Regions from separate parts of the Homo sapiens genome. Here region 2 is linked to region 1. The links are contacts of gene promoters, found by promoter capture Hi-C in blood cells and fetal thymus (Javierre and others, 2016). All regions are on one chromosome and are shown on one strand. Each heading gives the region's core, a stretch centred on a gene start or on the middle of the fragment in contact. The rest is flanking DNA. Distances are from core to core; before and after follow the strand shown. Region 1 holds the start of PSMD8 (proteasome 26S subunit, non-ATPase 8). Region 2 holds the start of EID2B (EP300 interacting inhibitor of differentiation 2B).

Region 1 (5,347 bases), core at 1,170-3,669:
TGGTAGGCAGTGCTAGGGACATAGCAGTAACTGAGACAGTTCCAAGCTCTGCCTTTAGAAAGCTCACAGTCCAGTGAGAGAAAGGGCTGGGATGAGCAGGCACAGGCAGAGGGGTGTGAGCTGGAACTGCATTGGAAGCCACAGGAAAGAACTTGGTCTTGTGCCTGAGGACCATGAAGAGCCACGGCAGGTTCTGAGCGGGGTATGGACAGTGTCAAATTTTAGTGTCACATGATCCTACTGGCTGCCACAGGGGTTTGAGTCAGAGGGGCAAGGCTGGGGCCAGGACACGTGAAAGGTGATGGCAGCCCCACTGGGCAGAGGGGGTGCAATGTGGGAATGGGTAGGGGGAGACTGACTAGTCAAGCCAAGTCTCAGGACCTCCAAGCCAAGCCCTGACCCTGCACCACTGAGGAGAGAACTAAGCCAGGAGGAGTTCCCAGATGAAGGAAGAGGACCCAAGCAGCCAGAGCTCCAGAAATAAAGGAGCTTCCATGCAACCACCCCCCCAGTTGGGGGCAGGGCCCATTCTCACTTGTAATCAAAGTAGTAGCATTTGAGCTGGGCCATGTAGCGCTCGAAGGAGGGGATGTCCTTGCGTAGGATGCTCCATTGGGCCCCGATCTCCAGTATGTCACCTGTGGGTGACAGAGTGAGCTCTCAGGAGGTGACTGAGGTCTCTTCCCCAACCACCAGTGCTACCATTCCTGCCATGACCCCCAGATTATCACCCCCAACCAACCCCAGTGACACTCACGGGCCAGAATTAGCTGCTGTTTGGTCAGCTTGGTCCCTGTGGTTGGCAAGAAGTTGAGCTCCAGAAGAACTAGCTGATGGGGAGGGGAGGGAGGGAAGAAAGAAAAGAAGGGAATTCAAATACAGATGACTTACCTGCTCTACGCTCTGGTCTTCCCACTTGGAAAATGGAGCTAACCATCATCCAGACTCATGAGGAATGCTTTCTCATAAAGCACTCAGAACAGGGCCTGAGCACGCAACACATGCCCATTTAAGATTACATCACATTACAATTATTAATAGCCCCACTGGGGAAACAAGGAGGGACACTCAGTGCCTGACCCAGTGGAATCACGCGGCGGTGGGGACAGGAGTACATTCCATTCTTGGCCCATCTTCCCCACAATCTATTGGGGAAGGGGTAGCTGGGCTATCCCCAAAATCTATATCTGGGAGGGGGAGGTCCAAATCTCCCCCCACAGTTCAGCCCATACATCTTTCCTTAGCAGGCTCAGCAGCTTGTTCCAAGCCACTGGATTTACACTCCCTCCCAACAGATGTTTGGTCTGAAGCACTCTGGGCCCCGTATTCTTGTTCTCTACTTGTAAGAATATTTCTTCTAGGTTCAGTCCTGCCTTCACAACTAGGCTGCCCCCTCTCCCAACAGATGCGAGCCTAAGCCCCAGATCTCTCAGATCCTAACCCAGCCTGGTCTTAACCACACACCCTCTACACAGCCCACCTTTTCAGCCTCATTCTTTTATCACTCCGGGCAGTCCTCACTTCCCACTTGGTCTTGCCTGGAATCCACCATCAGGAAAAGCCCGAATCCCAATCCTGCCACTCCGACCAGTTAAGCCTCCACGCACCAAAAATCTAACCCCTCACTCAGTTCTGCCATAAGTCTTCCAATCATTCCCCCACCACCCCCGCGTGGGTCCATTCCAGTCATCTCTCACTTAAAAAAAAAATGTAGAGACAGAGTCTCGCTATGTTGCTCAGGCTGATCTTGAACTCCTGGGCTCAAGCGACGCTCCCCCGCCTCGGCCTCCCAAAGCGCTGCGATTACAGGCGTGACCATCAACGCTCCCTGTCCCTCTCTCGCTTCTTGACGCCCTCCGAGCCCCCACTTTGGCTGTTCCAAATCTTTCACCCCATCGGATCCCCCAGCCCGCCTCAGTCTCGCTGGCACCGAGGTGGCTTCCGCGGCCCGGGACTTGGTTGGGTCCAGACACCTCGTAGCGCCTCCCACGCCCGCAACACTCGGTTTCCTGGGCCTGCCGACTTTACCTTGAGTCGACCCAGCTCTTCCCCGCACTTGCTAAGATTGGGGCTTTTACGGTTCCACTCGCCCTTGAGTTGCTCGTACATGCCGGTCGCGGCCTGCAGAACAGCGCCCGAGGTTGCCGCGGGCCCGGAGCTCGAGAAGCCTGCCGCCCCGTTCACCGCCGCGGCCGCCATCTTGCGTGATGCGGCAAGCAGACCGCCTGATTTACGGCAGCGCCGCCTACAAACGCTTGCCCGGCGGAAGTGGGGCCGAGAGGTGGAGCCCAAGGCCCGGGGCGGGGCTACAACCTGCCTCAGCCCGCCCCGGGTAGCCCGCCGTCGCTCTCGAGGTGGCGCCCTCGGAGCCCTGCCCTTAATGAACATGTCAGTTGGAGCTCCGCCTCTGTCGTCACTCAAGATGGTGACCGGAAGTTGGCTTTTGCCCTAACTGAAAATGACAGCTGTCTCAACACCACCCCCCCTACCCACCTCACGGTTCCAATAATGAACATGGCTGCCCTGGCTTCAGTCTGAGTGCTCGGGACGCTACGTAGCTGTCCTGGAGGTTCCGCCTTCGGGGCAGCGTCTCCAAGCCAAAAGGTAGCGGGTGTCGTGCCATTTGGAGAGCTGTGTTATTCTCATTTTATAGACAGACTGAGAGGCTGGGTAACCTTCCAAAGGACTAACAGCTAGGATGTGTACCTGGGGCTCCCTCTCCAGTCTTTTTCAATGCATCCTTCCACATTTTTTTCCCAAGCTTATATGAACTAACTAGTTACAAAACTCATCCAGCTCTATGGCTTTCAATGTCATGTGTAAGTGGAGGATTCACAATTTTTTTTTTTTGAGACGGAGTTTAGCTCTTGTTGTCCAGGCTGGAGTGCAATGGAGCAATCTTGGCTCACTGCATCCTCCGCCTCCTGGGTACAAGTGATTCTTCTGCCCCAGCTTCCCAAGTAGCTGGGATTACAAGCATGTGCCACCACGCCTGGCTAATTTTCGTATTTTTAGTAGAGACGTAATTTTAGTATTTTTAGTAGATGTTGGTCAGGCTGGTCTCCAACTCCTGAACTCAGGCGATTCCCTGGGCCCTGGCCTCCCGAAATGCTGGGATTACAGGCATGAGCCACCTTGCCTGGCCAGTATTCACAACTTCTTATACCAACTTCTTCCTCCACTGATTGATATTACATCTGCACATTCAACATCGCTTTTTCTCTCTTTTTAAAAAAAATTAAATTTTTTATAGAGACAGAGTCTCATTATACTGCCCAGGCTGGTCTCGAACTCCTGAGCTCAAGCGATATTCCTGCCTTGACCTCGCAAAGTGTTGGGATTAGAGGTGTGAGCCACTGCGCCTGGGCAGCACGTTTTTCTCAAACCCGACTTTCACTCTCCGTCTCCACCATTTAGAATGTCATCTCCATGAAGGCAGGACGATTTCCTTCACTACTGAATTCCCAGTATCTCAGTGCTTGGCAAATATTAGTAGACAGTCAATAAATATTTGTTGGCCAGGCATGGTGGCTCATGCCTGTAATCCCAGCACTTTGGGAAGCCGAGGCAGATAGATCACTTGAGGTCAGGAGTTCGAGACCAACCTGGCCAACATGGCGAAACCCCATCTGTACTGCAAATACCAAAAAAAAAAAACAAAAAAACCAGCTGTGCGTGGTGGCACACACCTGTAATCCCAGATACTCAGGAGCCCGAGGCAGGAGAATCGCTTAAACCCAGGAGGTCAGCTTGTAGTGAGCTGAGATTGTGCCGCTGCACTCCAGCCTGGGTGACAGAGTGAGACTCTGTCTCAGAGAAAATAAATAAATAAATGTAAAAATACCAAAAATTTGCCGGGCGTGGTGGTGCACATCTGTAGTACAGCTACTTGGGAGGCTGAGGCAGGAGAAGCACTTGAACCCGGGAGGCAGAGGTTGCAGTGAACTGAGATCGCCATTGCACTCCTGCCTGGGTGACAGAGCGAGACTGTGCTCAAAAAAAAAAAAAGAAAAAAGAAAAAAAGAAAAAGAAAGAAATTATATATGTGTTGAATTAATGAGTAAATTAATATGTGAAAGAAGTTGTGGTGGTAAAAAATGTTTTAAACAAAAATGATGGCCGGGTGTGGTGGCTCAAGTCTGTAATCTCAGCACTTTGGGAGGCTGAAGTGGATGGATCACCTGAGGTCAGGAGTTTGAGACCAGCCTAGCCAACATGGTGAAACTCCGTCTCTACTATACAAAAAATTATCTATCCAGGTATGGTGGCGGGTGCCTGCAATCCCAGTTACTCACTCGGGAGGCTGAGGCAGGAGAATCACTTGAACTTGGGAGGTGGAGGTTGCAGTGAGCCAAGATCGCACCATTGCACTCCAGCCTAGGCAACGAGCAAAACTCCATCTCAAAAAAAAAAAGAAAAAGACACAAATAAACAAAATACCACGTTGATATGGCCAGGCCAGGTGGCTCATGCCTGTAATCCCAGCACTTCGGGAGGCTGAGGCGGGCAGATCACGAGGTCAGGAGATGGAGACCAGTCTGGCTAACACAGTGAAACCCCGTCTCTACTAAAAATACAAAAAATTAGCCGGGCATAGTGGCATGCGTCTGTAGTCCCAGCTACTCAGGAGGCTGAGGCAGGAGAATCGCTCGAACCCAGGAGGCGGAGGTTGCAGTGAGCCGAGATCACACCACTGCACTCCAGCCTGGGTAACAGAGCGAGACTCCATCTCAAAAAACATAAATAGTTTCAAGTATGAGGGGAAATCCAGTCTCTGTCACTCTATCTTGGCTGGAAGTGCAGATGGTGATATTTAAATAACATGTTGACTTGGCTGATACAGGATTATGATGTGTTCACCTGGACCATGAGGTGACTCGGTAGAATCTTGGTGGTGGAAACAACCTTAGCCAGCAGCCCTTACACACATGAGTGTTGCCAACTCTTGTTATTGTCAAATTTCATCAGGTTTTTGTGCTACCAACCATGCCTAGTCAATGCCAACCCCAATGTATTCCTCCAACCCAACACTCTGGGTGAGCACCAACTAGGTGCAATCTCATACCTTTCCTCATTCGCTCCTTCATTCATTCATCTATTAATGCTGACCAAATGCCTACCATGCAACAGGGTATTTTTTTACTCATTTATTTCCTCCTGCCTTCATTCCTCCATCTTGTCAATTCATTGGTCACTACGCATCCATCCAGATTATGGACTGTATAACTAGCCTCAGATGGTGAGGGGAGTTGTCCTGAGGTCAGAGACTGCACTCTGAGGAGGACAGAGAAGAAAAAACTACAGAGAAATGAAGGCTGAATCCTGTGGACCTTGGGACTTTGGATCA
Region 2 (6,016 bases), core at 1,844-4,343, 1.2 Mb before region 1:
TTTCATTAGATGATGGAAACTTGCCCTTCCATTTAGCCTTTTAACTTGCTTCTCTACACCCACCTAATCACCAGTTAAATAACCTATTTTATGTTTTCCAACCTCTCTCTCCCATTTGCTTCCTCTTTCTTACCCAGTCTCCCTGCACACATGCAGACAGACTTCCATTCCTTCATCACTCTGGTTCCTCGCCTTAAAGAGGCTGTCTTTCCTTTTAAAGAGACAATGTTAATTGATTTTGATCAACTCTACTCAAAACTGTATCCTAAGGTCCACATTAAGATTAGTCTTTAATAATCTGAAGATATAATTCAGTCGTTTAAAAGAACATATTAAGAAGACCTTGGTAGAATTACATGTATCAATAAACACGAGGCCTTGAGCAGTTGCTCACGCCTGTAATCCCAGCACTTTGAGAGGCTAAGGCAGGCAGATCACAAGGTCAGGAGTTTAAGACCAACCTCGCCAATATGGTGAAATTCGGTCTCTACTAAAAATACAAAAAAGTTAGTCGTGCATGGTGGCACATGCCTGTAATCCCAGCTACTGGGGAGGCTGAGGCAGGAGAATTGCTTGAACCCAGGAGGCAGAGGTTGCAGTGAGCTGAGATCGTGCCACTGCACTCCAGCCTGGGTGACAGAGCGAGACTCCATCTCAAAAAAAGAAAGAAACACTGGACTTGGGTGCAGTGGAGATATGGCTGACTTTCTTTTGAAAAAAGAAGTCGTTTTTTGGGAGAGGGCAGGGCAAAGAAGTAAGAAGTTGTTGATACTGTAAGGAAATGTTAGAGACCATTTTGGAAATATACTCATTATTTTAAGTAAACTAACAAATGATCATCTTTCATTGTAGCAGCAGCTTTTACTGGTCATGAAATTTGCATGATATCTAAAATGGTATTTCTGGAAATAGGTCAGTGTCAATTAATAGTAACTTTGTATAGAAAGGCAGATGCCAGCTAGCATAAAAGTGGTACATGCAGACGGTGGTAGTTCTGGAGTCCTGGAAGCCATGAGATGCTCATCCATCACAAGGCCATCACAGCCAGTAAAATGCCTGAGGAAAGCAGCAGAGCTGGCCGTGCCAGCATTTACACAGGGAACACTTCTTGGGCAGCCAGGTGTCATGGAGCACAGACCCACAGTTCTCTTTGCACACATCGTGCTCACAGTTCCATCCATAGAAGGACGGGGGGCAGGCACAAAAGGACCCCAATGCAGGTTCCCCCATTCAGGCAGCAGGTTCTGCTTAGCTCCTTACTGTCCTGTATCCCCATGGGCAGCACACGCTGGGAAGACTGAGGCCGAATTGCAGGCTCCTCCTGGGGCCGAATGCTGTCATTTCTGAAGGCCAGGTCTCCCTGAGATGGACACGCAAGTTCCTGATGACCCAGCCCAGCAACTAATCCCAGTTCAAAGGCTTCAAAATGGCCATGATCCAAATCACACTGGAAGAGAAGCAGGCCATCTTCCTGCAGTCCATAGCTCTGTTGTTGTCCCCTTGAAGTTACCTTCCAGAGAAGTCCTTTCTTTTGTCTTCTGTGGAATATCACAAATGTGCTTTTTGAAGCATATATGTCACATGTAGGAGAACTCCATCTCTCCAAGAGAACTGTAGAAACAAAGTAAGGTACACGTGAGTCAGAATGATTTCCAACCCAATCAGCTCCCAGACACGACCTGTGATAGGTCAGAATTTTTAGATGGATCCTCCTGAAGTTCAATTGCCAGCAACTCTCATATTTGGATTCCAGCTAAATTCAAAGGATTTTTTTTCGAGACAGGGTCTTGCTCTGTCATACAGGGCTGGAGTGCAGTGGTGCAATCATAGCTCACTGCACAGTCCACCTACCAAGCTCAAGTCATCCTCCCACCTCAGCCTCCTGAATAGCTGAGACTACAGGTGCACATGCCACCATGCCTGCCTAATTTTTTTTTTCTGTAGGGACAGGGGTCTCACTATGTTGCCCAGGCTGGTCTCAAACTCATGGGCTCAAGCGATCCTCCCACCTTTGCCTCCCAACTTGCTGGGATTACAGGCATGAGCCACTACACCCAGCCACAGCTGACTGATTTTAAATGGAACATAGACTTTCACGTTTTGGGTTATCATCAGGATCAGAGCTAGCCACACAGAAAGGCTAACCATATCATTAGAGAGTTGGGGCTTGGAGCCATGTGATATCAGGTAGGAGGCTGGAGATTGACTTCAACAAAATGGACGATGGTTTAATCAAGCATGCCTAGGTAGTAAAACCCCAGTAAAAACTCTGGACACCAAAGCCTGGGTGAGAGTCCTATGTTAGCACTACCCCCACACTTATTGCCACACATGGACGACAAAGGGTAACACATCCCTAGGAACACAGGAACTTCACATTTGGAACCCTCCCCATCCCAGATTGTGCCTTATACATCTCTTCTAATCTGTGTCCTTTGCCTGTAATAAGCATGACTGTGAATATAACAGATTTCAATGAGCTCTGGGAATTATCAAACCTAAAGGTGGTTTTGGGAAACCCCCAAACTTCCAGTGTCAAAATATTACTTACAGGCCAGGCCGAGTGGCTCAGGCCGGTAATCCCAGCACTTTGGGAGGCCAAGGCAGGATGATCACTTGAGTCCAGGAGTTCGAGACCAGCCTGGGCAACATAGTGAGACCCAATTTCTACAAAAAATAAAAAATCAGCTGGGTGTGGTTGTGTGCACCTGTAGTTCCAGTTACTCCAGAGGCTGAGGCAGGAGGATGGCTTGAGGCTGGGAGGTCAAAGCAGCAGTAACCGAGATCGCACCACTGCACTCCAGCCTAGGCGACAGGGCGAGACCCAGTCTGAAAAAAAAAAAAAAAAGACAGGAGCTGGAAAATGACCGTATAAGGAACTTTACATTAATACTGAAGTGGTTGTAATTTAAGATACCGCGCAGTCCGCAGGTCCTCAGGCGCTCAGAGGACCAGAGGCGGCTACAGACGTAATGGCTACTCAGGACCGCTAGGGAACGCTAGAGGATTGGCCACCGTGCTTACGCATGCGCACACTCTGGCACGCACAGCGTTTACGCGCTCACTGAGACTCGCGCATGCGCAGGTCTCGCATACAGCAGTGCAGTGCCGTTATTCCAGTCTCCGTAGAAACGCTGGGACTATGGCGGAGCCGACTGGGCTGTTGGAGATGTCCGAGCTCCCCGGAGATAGCAGTGTCCCACAGGTGGGCACCGCGAGTGGCGTCAGCGACGTACTGCGGGGGGCAGTCGGCGGCGGGGTTCGGGTGCAGGAGGCTCGGGAAGGCCCAGTGGCCGAAGCTGCGCGGTCCATGGCGCGGATGCCGGGCCCTGTGCCCGGGCCCATCCCCAGCAGCGTCCCGGGCCTGGCCTCCGCGCCAGACCCCCATCAGCAGCTCGCTTTCTTAGAAATTAACCGGCAGCTGTTGTTCCGCGAGTATCTGGATGGTAGCTCCATGATTCCGGTCAGATTACTACGGGATTTCGAGGAACGCCGCAGGCTGTTTGTGGAAGGCTGCAAGGCGAGGGAAGCAGCCTTTGACGCGGATCCCCCGCAGATGGACTTCGCTGCTGTCGCGTTTACGGTAGCGCTGACTGCCTCCGAGGCCCTCAGTCCTCTGGCCGACTGAGTCGGCTGTGATGATGACATTGGTGGCAAGGAATAGCCAAGTGACCCTTTTGGGATCAAAAGAACAGGCAGGCTGTGCCAGTTTAGTTAACTCAGTCATTAGGGGGAATGCAAACTGGAAGGGAATACGGCAATGTGCAATTGAAGGAGGAAGCACACTCCGAAATGGAAACAGACAAGACTGTTGAATCTTGTTTTCTTTCTTCTTTTTTAGTATTATTTAAATAGAGAAGGGAGTCTCGCATCCCTAGGCTGGTCCCGAACGCTTGGACCCGAGCGATCCTCCCGCTTCGGCCTCCCAAAGTGCTGGGATTACTTTACAGGCGTGAGCCACCGCGCCCGGCCGAATCTTGTTTTCAAACAGGTCCCAAGACACTTCTGACTTAGCACTTTGTTAGCAATGCATTTTCCTGCATTTGTGAAGAATCCTTCATGACTTTCACCATAAAGGATGGTTTTGCAAAGATATGAGAAAAAAAAAATGCCAATAACAGAACCCATAGAAATGAACCTAAGTGATGAAAGAAAACAAAGAAATAGAGTTGTCAGGAATCCAGGTGTACCTGAGTTACTAGGATTGGAAGGCTATTGAGAGGACTTTGAAATTTCACAATTTGTGGTCATGTCAACAAATCCTAGTGTAAGATTCATATTTGTGTTTTCTGAGGTACTTTAGATGAACAGTAAATATTCAATAGAAAAAACCACGTATTATATGATCAGTGTTTTCAAGTCTATGTGAAATTGGGTAGGTGTGGAATAAACTTGTTTTTTGTTAATTTTAAGCTTTTTATTTTATTCTAGAATATGTATTCTATTCACAAGACTCAACAAAAAAAAGTATCGGCCGGGCGCACTGGCTTACGCCTGTAATCCCAGCACTTTGGGAGGCCACGGCGGGTGGATCACCTGAGGTCAGGAATTCAAGACCACCCTGGCCAACATGGTGAAACCCCATCTCTACGAAAAATAAAAAATTAACTGGGTGTGGTGGCACGCGCTTGTAGTCCCAGCTACTCGGGAGGCTGAGGCAGGAGAATCACTTGAACCTGGGAGGCGGAGGTTGCAGTAAGCCGAGATCACGCCACTGCACTCCAGCCTGGTCAACAGAGTGGGACTCCGTCTCAAAAAAAAGAAAAAAAGTATCAAAAGATGCTGTGAGAAATCTCTCTTGTTGCTGTCCTTTGCCAAACTCAGAACTATTCCATGCAGGTGCCATTGCTTGTGGCTTGGAGTTTTGTTGTTGTTTTCTTGGTTTTGCTTGTTTTTTGCTTTTTCACTGTACGCCTTTCAGGTTTTCTAATGCATATGCAAATAAACATCAATCTAAATATTGTGCATTTTCCCTTTTAATATCAAGGTAGTTAACTTGCATCACGAGGTATAAATTTTTAAAAATATAAAATCAAGGTAACATATTGTATACCTCTATCAGCATCTTGGGTTTTTTCAGTTATATATGGAGAGATTTATATATCAGGGTTTTTTTTTTCTTTTTTTATATATAGAAACAGAGATGGGGCCTCATTATGTTTTCTAGGCTTGTCTCCAACTCTTGGCTTCAACTGTTCCTCCTGCCTCGGCTTCCCAAAGTACTAAGTGCTGGGCGTGAGCTACTCCACTGGGCGTTTTTTTTTTTACAACTACAATGTAAAGCCTTATCTTAGTATAATGAACTAGACACCTTTTGGACATCTGGGTTGTTTGCAAAATGTTTTAACATTTTCTATGCATTTATACGTGTTTACTCGTTTTCCATAATACACTGTTTTTTTTTTTTCTTTTTGAAACAGAGTCTTGCTCTGTCACCCAGGCTGGAGTGCAGTGGTGCAATCTCAGCTCACTGCAATCTCTGCCTCCTGGGTTCAAGTGATTCTCCTGCCTCAGCCTCTGGAGTACCTGGAACTACAGGCACGTGCCACCATGCCCGGCTAATTTTTTGTATTTTTAGTAGAGAAAGGGTTTCACCGGTTAGCCAGGATGGTCTCGATCTCCTGACCTCAAGATCTGCCTGCCTCAGCCTCCCAAAGTGTTGGGATTATAGGTTTGAGCCACCGCACCCAGCCACCTTATTTTTTGTTTGTTTTTGTTTTTTTTCTGAGACGGAGTCTCACTCTGTCGCCTGAACTGGAGTGCAGTGGCACCATCTCAGCTGACTGCAACCTCCACTTCCCGGGTTCAAGCTATTCTGCCTCAGCCTCCGAGTAGCTGGGACTACAGGTGCACCACTGTGCCCAGCTAATTTTTGTATTTTTTTAGAGAAAGGGTTTCACCATGTTGGCCAGGCTAGTCTCGAACTCCTGACCTCGTGATCCACCTGCCTCAGCCTCCCAAAGTGCTGAGATTACAGGCGTGAGCCACCGCACCCGGCCCCACCTTGGTATTTTTA

The links. The method cuts DNA at HindIII sites, captures the fragments that hold promoters and counts their contacts. A CHiCAGO score of 5 or more calls a contact.
Region 2: the fragment with the promoter of EID2B here is called in contact with the fragment with the promoter of PSMD8 in region 1 in 1 of 17 cell types (neutrophils); the score reaches 5.2 in neutrophils.

The regions. Positions count from the first base shown.
Region 1 is chr19:38,371,643-38,376,989 of GRCh38, reverse strand. It overlaps PSMD8 (proteasome 26S subunit, non-ATPase 8), which reads right to left and starts at 2,419. Exons shown (of 7, transcript NM_002812.5): 1 at 2,029-2,419; 2 at 758-830; 3 at 536-638. The coding sequence starts at 2,388. RefSeq lists enhancers at 2,110-2,249, 1,880-2,510. The HindIII fragment of the contact is 10,393 bases long and covers 1-2,763 here.
Region 2 is chr19:39,529,929-39,535,944 of GRCh38, reverse strand. It overlaps EID2B (EP300 interacting inhibitor of differentiation 2B), which reads left to right and starts at 3,093. Exons shown (of 1, transcript NM_152361.3): 1 at 3,093-4,958. The coding sequence starts at 3,143. The coding sequence ends at 3,628. It also overlaps the pseudogene CRIPTOP7. The HindIII fragment of the contact is 7,702 bases long and covers 1-4,415 here.